Linked DNA regions of Homo sapiens: all the other regions are linked to region 2. The links are contacts of gene promoters, found by promoter capture Hi-C in blood cells and fetal thymus (Javierre and others, 2016). All regions are on one chromosome and are shown on one strand. Each heading gives the region's core, a stretch centred on a gene start or on the middle of the fragment in contact. The rest is flanking DNA. Distances are from core to core; before and after follow the strand shown.

Region 1 (2,888 bases), core at 37-2,536, 340 kb after region 2:
GATGCTCAGGAGTTGCAGAAAAACCTCAAAGTCCCTTCCGATCAGAATGGAGATATGCAAAACACAACTGAACAAGTCACAAAATGAACCTTCTTGCACTTGCTTGTTGACAAAAAAAGACAAGCCCATTGATTTTCACCCCCTCTTTCTTGTAAAGCTTTCCTGCACTGCCATGTTTTTGTTTTTCCTTCTTTCTTTTCTTTTCAAAGTTTTAATACTTTCAAGGACTTTAAAAATGATCATGTTTGGGCCAGGCGCAGTGACTCACTCCTGTAATCCCAGCACTTTGGGAGGCCAAGGTGGGTGGATCACTTGAGGTCAGGAGTTCCAGACGAGCCTGGCCAACATGGTGAAACCCCATCTGTACTAAAAATACAAAAATTAGCCAGGCGTGGTGGCGTGTGCCTGTAGTCCCAAGCTACTCAGGAGCCTGAGACAGGGGAATCGCTTGAACCTGGGAGGCAGAGGTTGCAGTGAGCCGAGATCGTGCCACTGCACTCCAGCCTGGGCCACAGAGCAAGACTCCATCTCAAAAAAAAAAAAAAAAAAAAAAAAAAAAAAAAGATCATGTTTGGATTGTTTCAGTTCTCTTATTTTTGTGAGGTGGTTTGACTGAAGGCAGGAGAAGGTAGATCTGTTTAATTTCACAGTTAAGATAAATGGTTCTAAAAATTTAGGTGTCAAATAATTTCACATTTCTTAGCTTGGAGTTGGAGACCAGCCTGGGCAACATAGCAAGACTCTGTCTCTATTTTTTTTTTTTGGAGACGGAGTCTCACACTGTTGCCCAGGCTGGAATGCAATGGCGAGATCTCAGCTCACTGCAACCTCCGCCTTCTGGGTTCAAATGATTCTCCTGCTTCAGCCTCCTGAGTAGCTGGGACTACAGGCGCCTGCCACCACGTCCGGCTAATTTTGGTATTTTCTTAGTAGAGACAGGGTTTCACCATGTTGGCCAGATGGTCTTGATTTCTTGACTTCATGATCCGCCTGCCTCGGCCTCCCAAAGTGCTGGGATTACAGGCGTGAGCCACCGAGCCTGGCCCTCTTAGTTGTTTTTTCTTAGTCCTGCTTTCACATCGAAGGGCAGAGCCTACAAAATATTGTACATTTCAAAAGACAGAAAGAAGCAGCAGTGATATCTTGTTTTCTAATTCATAGACGAGTTTAGTGTGCTTGTGGTACCTTGGGCTTTGAAAGCCTTTGTGGGATACCAATCCCTAGACATTATCTTCACTCCAGCTTTAGTCCTTCCGAGCACTCTCAGGAGTAGCACCGTTGCTATCTCTGGAAGAAATGCTGAGCATATTTATTATTATTATTATTATTTTGGAGACAGAGTCTTGCTCTGTCGCCCAGGCTGGAGTGCAGTGGCGGATCTCGGCTCATTGCAAGCTCCGTCTCCTGAGTTTAGGCGATTCTCCTGCCTTAGCCTCCCGAGGTAGCTGGGACTACAGGCACGCGCCACCACGCCCGGCTAATTTTTGTGTTTTTAGTAGAAAGAGGGTTTCACCATGTTGGCCAGGCTAGTCTTGAACTCCCGACCTCAGGTAATCTGCCTGCCTTGGCCTCCCAAAGTGCTGAGACTACAGGGGTGAGCCACGGCGCCTGGCCGCATATTTTGATTTTTAAAGCAATTATTTCTTCTCTTCTTGCTGGTGGGTGGGGCACCTTGGGTACGTAGTGTTATACTTTGGTCTAAGTATTTTGAGTTAAACTGCTTTTTTGCTAAAATGAATGGGCTGGTTTTTATCAGGTTTATTTTTCCTGCTGTTGTTACTAATGGCATTAACTTTTAGAGTCGGAAGCGGTAAGACTGATTTTTTAAAATATCCCAGAGATATGGCTTCTAATTGACCTAGAGATTTGTCGTAATTTAACTTTTTTCTCCTGCCCCTTTTCTTCAGTAAATCCAACAATAACCCAGGTGTGGTGGCTCATGTCTGTAATCCCAACACTTTGGGAGGCCAAGGCGGGTGAATCACTTGAGCCCAGGAATTGGAGACCAGCCAGGACAACATAGTAAGATGCCTGTCTGTACATAAAAATTAAAACAAAAAAAAATTAGCTGGGCGTGGTGGTGCATACCTGTAGTCCCAGCTACTTGGGAGGCTAAGGAAGGAGAATCACTTGAGCCCACGAGGTCGAGGCTGCAGTATGCCGTGATCATGCCACTGCACTCCAGCCTGGGCAACAGAGTGAGACCCTGTTTCTAAAAAAGAAAATGTTGGCCGGGTGCAGTGGCTCACGCCTGTAATCGCAGCACTTTGGGAGTCTGAAGACCAGCCTGGGCAACATGGTGAAACCTCATCTGTACAAAAAAAATTTTTAAGTCCATATAGGTTATTACCGCTAAATAAACGGAAGCAGGTGTTTTCTCTTGGACATACTGAAAATATTTAAAAGAAAGCTTAGATGGCAGCATGAGCATGAAGAACCAAGAAAGCATACTTGGAGTCAGTGCAAATGTTAGCTACCTTTCCTTTGCTTAATTCTAGTGCTCGAGTAAGAGCTATCAGCTCAGCTAATTGAGTGCTTGGACGGAGAGACACACTTTCAATGACGTCATTTAGAGTGACTACTGCATATCCTGCCTTATGGATTCCTTGTTCTACAAAAGAGCTCCCATCTGTGAAGAGGGTCCAGTGTGGGTTCTCTAGCGGTTTCCCTGAGATCTTCCCTGGCTGCATAGGTCTGTATCAGGACTTGTTCACAGTCATGTTCAGGTTCCCTAGTTTCCTTGGGGAGGAAAGTGGCTGGATTTAGGCGAGAACAATTTTTTTGTTTTTGGTTTTGTTTTTGTTTTTTTTGAGACGGAGTCTCACTCTGTCGCCAGGCTGGAGTGCAGTGGCACAATCTCAGCTCAATGCAACCTCCACCTCCTGGGT
Region 2 (3,044 bases), core at 344-2,843:
CTGGGATTACAGGCGTCAACCACCGCGCCCGGCTGATCCCAGCACTTTTGAGAGGCGGAAGCAGGTAGATCACTTGAGGTCAGGAGGTCGAGACCAGCCTGGCCAACATGGTGAAACCCCATGTCTACTAAAAATACAAAAATTAGCCGGGCGCGATGGCGGGCACCTGTAATCCCAGCTACTCTGGAGGCTGAGGCAGGAGAATCGCTTGAACCTGGGAGGAGGAGGTTGCAGTGAGCTGAAAAGATCGCGCCACTGCACTCCAGGCTGGGTGTCAGAGTGAGACCCTGTCCCCCCTCCAAAAAAAAATTGTGAGCCCAGGTGTAAATGAAGCCCCCCTCCCCAGCACCCTCCTCTACATACCAAGCTTTTCTCCTAGAAAAGATGCACTGGGAAAAAGCTATCTTGAGTAAAGATCAAAACTGATATAAGCCATCCCTCATATACCAATAATATGCCATCAATAAGCGTGAGACATGTGGATGGCTAGGAGAGAGTCTGGTTTCTTCCTGATGCTGCCCACCCAAAACAGAGACTGCAGTTAGGCTCTGACCACACGAGCGCCTGGCATCTCTAGGCAACCTTTTCCATACCAAGCTTAGTTATTCCGGGCAAAATGCAAAAAAAAAACATAAGTAGGAACCTATCATGAAGTGTCCTGGATATTCTTAAATTAAATTTAACCAGATTCTCAAAACATTTCATAACTAACGTCTGCTTTCTTCATTTAATTCTCCAAACATTATAATTTACATTGGTAGAAGAAAGTCCCACTTTACCTGCGGTGAAAAAGGTCGAAATGTCTATCTAGCATGAGATGAAAAACACTACCAGAGAGCAGGGTAGGATTTCACCTCGGCTATTCTCGCTCTAAGTCCAAAACTCCCACATCCTCTCCGCATCCCTCCACCCCGACAGAGTGGCCACAGGGCGTAGAGCGGAGGCTGATACCGCTCAGAGCAGACCGAAGGGAAAAGACGTCTCCCACCGCGCTCATGCCCAACCGGGCTCTCTGGAAAAGGGTCCCGGGGAGCGCGAGGAAAGAAACGAAGGCCGGAAGGAGGCAGAGCGGTCTAAGCAAATAAAAACCCCGGACTTCCACGGCGGCCGGAGCTGGAGGCCTGTGACAGCGGCTCCTCCTCTCAGAGCTTTCCCGGCTTCAGGAGGAGCTGGGGGGCGCCAGCTTCCCGGTGCCTGCGACGCACAGCCCGGCTGGAGCGAGAGCGCAGGGCAGCGGCCCCTCGGGACGAGCTCGCTCGCCTCCCCCGGAAAGGGAGGCTGTGGCCGAGACGGACGGCGGCCTCCAGCTCGGGCGGGGGAGGGCGGCTCGAGGCCTCCGGACCGGGCGCTGAGGTGGCGCACCGGCGCGGGAATGGCCCCAGCCAGCCCCGCCAGGCGATCGCTGAGTCCGTCACTCGTCTGCCCGCGTCCCCGCTTACCTGCTACCCTCGTTCCTGGCAGCTGCCCCGCCGCCGGCCCCGTCGCGGCAGCAGCCTGGACCGCGGACCCCGCCTTCGTCAGCTCCAAGGGAAGCCCCGCCAGCGACGAGGCGTCCGGCCTGTTCGCCGCGGCCACAGCCGCCGAGCTTCCTCTGAAGCGGCTGCCGCGACGCCGGCGCTGGCCTATCGCGTCACCTCCTCCGCGCCCTTCCGCCTGCGAGGCTGGGCCTGGCACCGCCCGCTTCCGGCGCTCCCGCCCCGCCTCCCGACCCGGGGCCGCCCCGCCCCCGCCCGTCACCGCGTCCTTAGCCCCGGCCTCCCTCAGAACGCGCTGGGATGGGAACCGCGTTCAGGAGCTGCTAAGCGCGTTTGAGACTTCAGCCCCTTCTCCAGCTTTTAACCTAAAAGGGCTAAATCAGACCGCAGCTAGTGTACACCCCTACCCTCCGCTGATCCCGTCACCCCTGCGCCGAAAGCAAAAGACCCATTCCAGCTCTGGACGTTGTGAGGCCTGGCCCAGGCGTCCGCTCTCTGGTTTTCCTATTGATCTTACCCCTGGTATTGTGATTGGCCTCTTTATCTATGTCTTACCCGCCCCAACTGTGAATGCTTTCCAAAATTATAAGCCGATGTCCTGACAGGCAAAAACATAATAATAGCAGATTTATGGCGGAAGATGAGTTCAGTTTTGAACATACTCGATCTGGAAGAATAAAGTGGAGGTGACTGCAATGGAAAACCAACAGTGCGTTGCTGAGAGCCTGTGTAGGCAGTAAGGATATGCATTGATGGTGGAGAAGATAAAAACAATACCGAAGCCAACTGCAGGATGGTTTGCTTTTAATTATCATCATGTGTCAGAAAATTCTAAACAATGTTAATGAAAAAGTACTCCTTTCCAAACAAAAGCTTTGTTTAGTCTTAGTTCTAAGCAATGGCTGCAATTACTGTTGATTTTTTTTTCTTTTTTCTTTTCTTTTTTTTTTTTTTCCAAACAGGGTCTTGCTGTCTCGCCCAAGCCGGAGTGCCGTGGCACACCCTAGGCTCGCTGTAACCTCTGCCTCCTGGGCTCAAGCGATCCTCCCACCTCATCTTCCAGGGTACCTGCGACCACAGGCTCCTGCACCACGCCCGGCTAATTTTTTATTACTATTACTATCATTATTTTTGTAGCGATGACATCTCCCTATGTTGCCCAGGCTGGTCTTGAACCCCTGAGCTCAAGTGATCCTCCCACCTGGGCCTCCCACAGTGCTCGAATTACAGGCGTGAACCACCACACCAGGCCCTCTCACTTCTTTTTAACAGTTTCTCTTTGTCAGTGATTTTTTTTTTTTTTTTAGAGGAGTGTCGCTCTGTCGCCCAGGCTGCAGTGCAGTGGCGCCATCTCGGCTCACTGCAAGCTCTGCCTCCCGGGTTCACGCCATTCTCCTGCCTCAGCCTCCTGAGTAGCTGGGACTACAGGCGTCCACCACCACGCTTGGCTAATTTTTTTTGTATTTCTTTAGTAGAGACCGGGTTTCACCAAGTTAGCCAGGATAATCTCGATCTCCTGACCTCGTGATCTGCCCGCCTCAGCCCCCCAAAGTGCTGGGATTACAGGCG
Region 3 (3,120 bases), core at 312-2,811, 280 kb after region 2:
TGATGTCAGTTATTATCTCAATAAAGCTAATTTAAAGAAATAAAAAACTCCCCAGGTGATTCTAGTGGGCATCCCAAAATGAGAAGCATTGAGCTAGGTCAGCCTCAGCAACAGCCCCAGGAAGGAAGACATCTGCTCCGGAATCGCGTCGTGACCAGCAGCGCCCCCAGGACTTAGACCGCATGAGTCCTGTGCTGTTGATCCAGTGGTCTTGCCTCAAGACCAAAATGATAGAACATTGCTGAGCTTCTCCCAAAATTAAAAAGAGGCACCTAAAAATTTTGAACTGAGGCTGGGCGCGGTGGCTCACGCCTGTAATCCCAGCACTTTGGGAGGCCGAGGCGGGCAGATCACGAGGTCAAGAGATCAAGACCATCCTGGCTAACACGGTGAAACTCCATCTCTCCTAAAAATACAAAAATTAGCCGGGCGTGGTGGCGGGCGCCTGTAATCCCAGCTACTCGGGAGGCTGAGGCAGGAGAATGGCTGGAACCCGGGAGGCGGAGGTTGCAGTGAGCCGAGATCACACCACCGCACTCCAGCCTGGGCGACAGAGCGAGACTCTGTCTCCAAGAAAAAAAAAAAAAATTGAACTGCTAGGATTGTTATTCAGAGGTGTGGGGTATGTAAGGAAAAGAAAAATCCCGAAACAACAAAACACCCCCGCAGCCTTTAGTTGGCAGAGTCACGGTTTAGAAGGCAGTTGGTTGTCCTTTGGGGGTATTGCAGGCCCGCCTCCCTCGCTCTACCCGCTGGGCTGTGGAGCCCGTACGGCCAGTGAGGAACGCGGCACACCAGCAGCTCTCTCATCCAGCTGGCTGCCGATCTCCTTAACTCCAGGCTCACTAGTTCCAACTGCCTTTTCTGTATTTCCACCTCCGATTTAACATGTTCAAAACCGCACTCGTTACCCTCACCCCCCAATCTTTTTTTTTGAGACAGAGTCTCGCTCTGTCACCCAGGCTGGAGTGCAATGGCGCGATCTCGGCTCACTGCAAGCTCCGCCTCCTGGGTTCCCGCCATTCTCCTGCCTCAGCCTCCCGAGTAGCTGGGATTACAGGCACCTGCCACCACAACCGACTAATTTTTGTATTTTTAGTAGAGGCGGGGTTTCACCACGTTGGCCAGGCTGGTCTCGAACTCCTGGCCTCAGGTGATCTGCCCACCTCAGCCTCCCAAAGTGCTGGGATGACAGATGTGAGCCACTGCGCTCGGCCCCTCACCTCCCAATCTATTCCTCCTTTTCAATACCCTTTCTTAATAAGCAGTACCTTATAAATGTCTGCACCAAAAAGCTTCTCACTCTTGACATACAAATGGTGTCCACATGTGTTCCTGCATTCTCTTAAATACATCCCTCCTCCATCTTTAGTCACCTTAGTTTAGGTCCTCATCATTTTCTGCCTAGACCTCCTGACTCCCACCTTTCAGATATTGGTTTTTGTAGCTAATCATGCCCCTGCTGAAAACTTTTGAATGGCTTCCCCCATGAAAAAATAGACAAAACCCAAACTATTTGGTATGGCAATTATAATCCAGACGCAATTTCCCTGTTCCATGCCCTCCCCCACCACTTGTCCAGCATGGTTCCAGACATAGCGGACCTATCTGTGCCTCCGTATCATAGCACGTCCTATCCCACTTGCCTGGAACAGTGGATTTATCCTCATTAGCTCCCACCTACTATCTTCTAAGCTCAGCTTAAACATCGCCCCAGGTTAACTATTCCCTCTCCTATGCCACCCTGGACCTCACCTGTAATTTCGTTAAAGCAGTTACCTCAGTTTCACAGTAGTCTGTTTCCACATTTGCTTTCACAGAAGCTTGTCAGCAACTTCGATTTTTCCTTCTCATCTTTCCATCTCTAGTACCTGGTAAAAGCCTGCTAGATAACGGATGTTAGAAAATAATTTGATGAATGATCTTTCCTGCCTTTTTCATTCTGTCTACATTACCAAGTGGATGACTAGTAGCTGGGTGGGCAGGGAGATCCTTCAAAATTTCAGAAGCTCAACTATGGCCATGTAAAACCTAGAGTGGCCTCCGTGACTCCGTCGGCACTGAAGTTCCTGTAGGCTGTGCTCAGAAGGGTGGATTGCGCTGGGCTTTGCCACCAGTCTCTGCTCAGAGCAGTGTCTTTGCTACCAACATGTCTTTTAGCAAAGTAACCATCTGTCCGTGCTATTCTGGGCAATTGGATCATGAACTACATCACTCTTTGGCCTACTGAGGGGTTAGAGATGTCATCAACAACTCTCATTGCAACCTTAAGCCTCCTTTCCTTCCAAGGTGAAGATGACCAACAAGGGGGCACAGATCAATCATATGCTCTTTAAACATGGGTTGGGAATATGAACAAGTTAGCTATATTAAAATAAACAAAGATATCTGGTCTGTTCCCACTACAATATGCCTCTAATGAATCTAACTTGAGACGCTAGAATTTTAATACATTATTTCAGGGAGACTTTCTTAAGGGAGCTATGACCTCAAAACCATTACTTGATTTTATCCCCATTTTATTTATACAGGAAAGGGGGCAGAAATATAACATGGTGTACAAGTATCATATCATATCATAGACAGGACTTGACTTCTCTAATCTTTTCTTAATGTTTTCCTGCCTTAAACAGAAATTAAACACTATCAACAGGGTGACCTAAGGAAACTCCCCAAATGATTCCTACTTCTTGAGCCACTCATCATGAAATCCTACATACAAAAGCTGAATAACAATCTTAAATCTTAAAGGGCTACTTCTTTCAGCAAACTATTATTCTGAAGACTAGAGAACATGTTGCTCTCAACAGTATTTTAGTGAACACATTAAATAAGAAGCAAACAGTTCGAGGGAGGATCCAAAAAAGAAATCAGGACAACAGACTGGTAAAGCTGTCTCTGGCGTCTCTTTCCACTAAACAAAGCGGCAAATACAGAACATTTACACCTATTTTTCTTTTATAAAATTTAAATGCTTTGGGCTGGGCACGGTGGCTCATGCCTGTAATCCCAGCACTTTGGGAGGCCGAGGCACACGGATCACCTGAGGCAGGGGTTGCAATGAGCCGAGAGCACATCAACTGCTCTCCAGCCTGGGTGACAGAGCAAGACTTTGTCTCA
Region 4 (3,024 bases), core at 429-2,928, 260 kb after region 2:
ACATATTTGTGGCTCAACTCACCACAGGTGCGGGTTTGACTCTGAAGTGGGACTGAGGAACTAGTTTACTTTTTCCATTCCATGTGTTTCCTCATGCAAGCTCCTCCCCACAGGGCACCCCTTGGCACCCCACCCTCCCCTGGGCACCTGACATGTGCCGCTGCTGCCCCCTGCTGGGAGAACACTGTTGGATCCCGGGGAGAGGGACTCCTTTCAGAGTGGCCACATCAGGGGCAGGAGAGGAGGGGACTTTGAAGGGTAAGTGATAAAACAGAGCATTTAAATATAGCCAGACACTAAAATCTTTTCACAAAATGTCTGAAACGTCTGGCTTATAATCAGCATACAGGCCTGTGAAAAGGGGTCAAGGAAGTATAAGGTGGTTGGGTACCCACCTGAGATGGAAGCCTTTTAATGAGGCCTAGACTACCCATCTCCTCCCTTTGGTATATCTGAAGCATTTTAGCCTTCTTAAAGCACAATGTTTATTAAGTGGTAAAAAAATTATTCAAAGACTACATGGCTAAGATAATAAGCTTCATACTCTTCGACAACTGTTTTCTTCCCTTTTATTCCAAAGTCCACAAACTGACCCCAACTTACCTCTTTATTTCTGTCTCCCACTATTCTTCCTTGCACAGGCTGTGACCTATGTTGTCTTCTACCAACTCCCCCTGCACACACACTTATAGCTCTATAAATAACACACATTATAACAAAGTTATGAAACAAGAACTAACAAAAATGAAACAAGAACAGGTAAATATTTTTAAAGCCAATAACCTCATCATTGTATTTTTTATTCTTTGAATTCTGTGCTGTGTGCCTATGTTTCATATTCAAAAATAGTAAATTCATTAGTTTATTTTTAAATGAGAAAAAAATGGGTTAGAAATCTTACGAACATGACATATGTTTAATGACTTTTAAAATCTAATAGAATAAACTCCATACTGAGCACAAAGAGAAAATTTGTGAATTAACACAAGACAGAGCAGTAAACACGATAAAGACATTTTTTCAAGTAAAAAATATGTGACATCAGCTAGGCAATCGAGACAATACATTGGGTCTCTAATATATCCCCTTTTAAAAGCCTCAGAAGAAAATAACAGTAAAGGAGAAATGATTGAACAGATTATAGTTCATGTGAATATCCACATGTAAGAGAATGAAGTTGAATTCCTACCTCACACCATAAACAAAAAAATAATTCTAAATTCTCATAGACCTAAATGTGAGAGATCAAACTGTAAAACCCTTTGAAGAAAACAAAGGAGTAAATCTTTGTGACTTTGAACTAGACAATGGTTTCTTAGATATGAAACCAAAAGCCCAAGTGACAAAAGAAGTAAATAAATTGGACTTCAACTCAACAATAAAAAGACAAATTACGCATTTTTTATTTTAGTTTATTTTATTTTTTATTTTTGAGACAGAGTCTCAATCTGTCACCCAGGCTGGAGTGCAGTGGTGCAATCTCAGTTCACTGCAACCTCTGCCTCCCAGGCTCAAGCAATTCTTGTGCCTCAGCCTCCCAAGTAACTGGGATTACAAGTGTGTACCACCATGCCCAGCTAATTTTTTAAATATTTTTAGTAGAGACGGGGTTTCATCATGTTGCTCGGGCTGGTCTTGAACTCCTGAGCTCAGGCAATCTGCTCACCTCGACTTCCCAAAGTGCTAGGATTACAGGCATGAGCCACTCCACCCGGCCAAATTACTCATTTTTTAAATGGGCAAAGGATCTGTACACAAACAACTTAGATGCCTGTGAGGAAAGCATGCTTAGTTCCTACTCCTAAGATTTCCATTCATTTCAAGGACCTCTATTGGTGTGATAGTCTCAGTCTCTCTGCCTCTTTACTCATTCTGCTCCTTGGAGGACAGAGTGATGTTAAATAGTAAATTTAGGAAGAATAATCTGGATATGTTAGTTCTGCTTTTCTTTTTGGGGAGCAAACTGCTGGCGGTGTTTTATATATATATATATATGTTTATCAAATTGTTTGTATATTTGTTGCCTTGATCTACTAAACACTCAGCTAACAGACCTAAAGCTACGTCCTCTAACCTGGTCGCTACCAGCAATAAAGATAATATTTTGGCCTCTACAGGGGCCAAACCCAAGCAGAGAACCCTATCTTTTTATTGGATCTTCAAAGACAATATTGAATGACATAAAAGATGATGAAGATATGCTACAGTCATGGATGAGAATGCATTTCATCATAAAGATACCAATTCTTCCCAAGTCTATTGATTCAACATGCATATTGATTTATATTTTCAATTTTCAATAAAAATCCCAACAGAACTTCCAGGTGACTTCACAAGGTACGTTCTAAAATCTATATAGAAGAGTAAAGGGCCAAGAATAACCAAAACAATTTTTTAAAACCAAAAGTTTGAGGGAATTGCTCTTTCAAAATGAAGACTGGGGCTGGGCACCCTGGCTTATGCTTGTAATCCCAGCACTTTGGGAGGCCAAGGCAGGCGGATTGCGTGAGCCCAGGAGTTCAAGACCACCCTGGGCAATGTGGTGAAACCCTGTCTGTACAAAAAAATGCAAAAAAATTAGCCAGCATAGTGGTGTGTGCATGTAGTCCCAGCTACTTGGGAGGCTGAGGTGGGAGGATCACTTGAGCCAAGGAGTTCAAGATCAGGAGTTGGGCCCAGGAGACAGAGGCTGCGGTGAGCCGTGATCACAGGGCTCATGCCTGTAATCCCAGCCTACGATCCCAGGAAGATCACTTGAGATCTGGAATACGAGCTCAGCCTTGGCAACATAGTGAGACTCCAGCCCTAGAAAAAAGCTTATTTAAAACATTATAAAAGATCTATAAAAAGGATTGACCAGGTGTCATGGTGCACACCTGAAGTCCCAGCTACTAGGGAGGCTGAGATGGGAGGATTTCTTGAGCCCAAGAGTTCAAGGGTACAGTGAGCTATGGCCATGCCACTGTACCACAGCCTGGGTGACAGACCAAGACCGTGACTCTAAAACAAAACAAAAACCCTAAG

Evidence for each region. The method cuts DNA at HindIII sites, captures the fragments that hold promoters and counts their contacts. A CHiCAGO score of 5 or more calls a contact.
Region 1: a contact is called between a fragment that was not itself captured here and the fragment with the promoter of SENP5 in region 2, in 1 of 17 cell types (endothelial precursors). The highest score is 5.0, in endothelial precursors.
Region 3: a fragment that was not itself captured here is called in contact with the fragment with the promoter of SENP5 in region 2 in 1 of 17 cell types (endothelial precursors); the score reaches 5.1 in endothelial precursors.
Region 4: a contact is called between a fragment that was not itself captured here and the fragment with the promoter of SENP5 in region 2, in 1 of 17 cell types (fetal thymus). The highest score is 8.2, in fetal thymus.

What each region holds. Positions count from the first base shown.
Region 1 is chr3:196,525,016-196,527,903 of GRCh38, reverse strand. It overlaps the pseudogene NAA50P2. Among named protein-coding and RNA genes, the nearest start is that of SMCO1, 11 kb to the right of the region's middle. The HindIII fragment of the contact is 2,253 bases long and covers 160-2,412 here.
Region 2 is chr3:196,866,469-196,869,512 of GRCh38, reverse strand. SENP5 (SUMO specific peptidase 5) reads right to left here and starts at 1,593. Exons shown (of 10, transcript NM_152699.5): 1 at 1,440-1,593. RefSeq lists an enhancer at 84-585 and a silencer at 1,237-1,816. The HindIII fragment of the contact is 1,751 bases long and covers 600-2,350 here.
Region 3 is chr3:196,589,501-196,592,620 of GRCh38, reverse strand. No RefSeq gene overlaps it. Among named protein-coding and RNA genes, the nearest start is that of FBXO45, 22 kb to the right of the region's middle. The HindIII fragment of the contact is 528 bases long and covers 1,298-1,825 here.
Region 4 is chr3:196,606,606-196,609,629 of GRCh38, reverse strand. No RefSeq gene overlaps it. Among named protein-coding and RNA genes, the nearest start is that of LINC01063, 24 kb to the left of the region's middle. The HindIII fragment of the contact is 2,280 bases long and covers 539-2,818 here.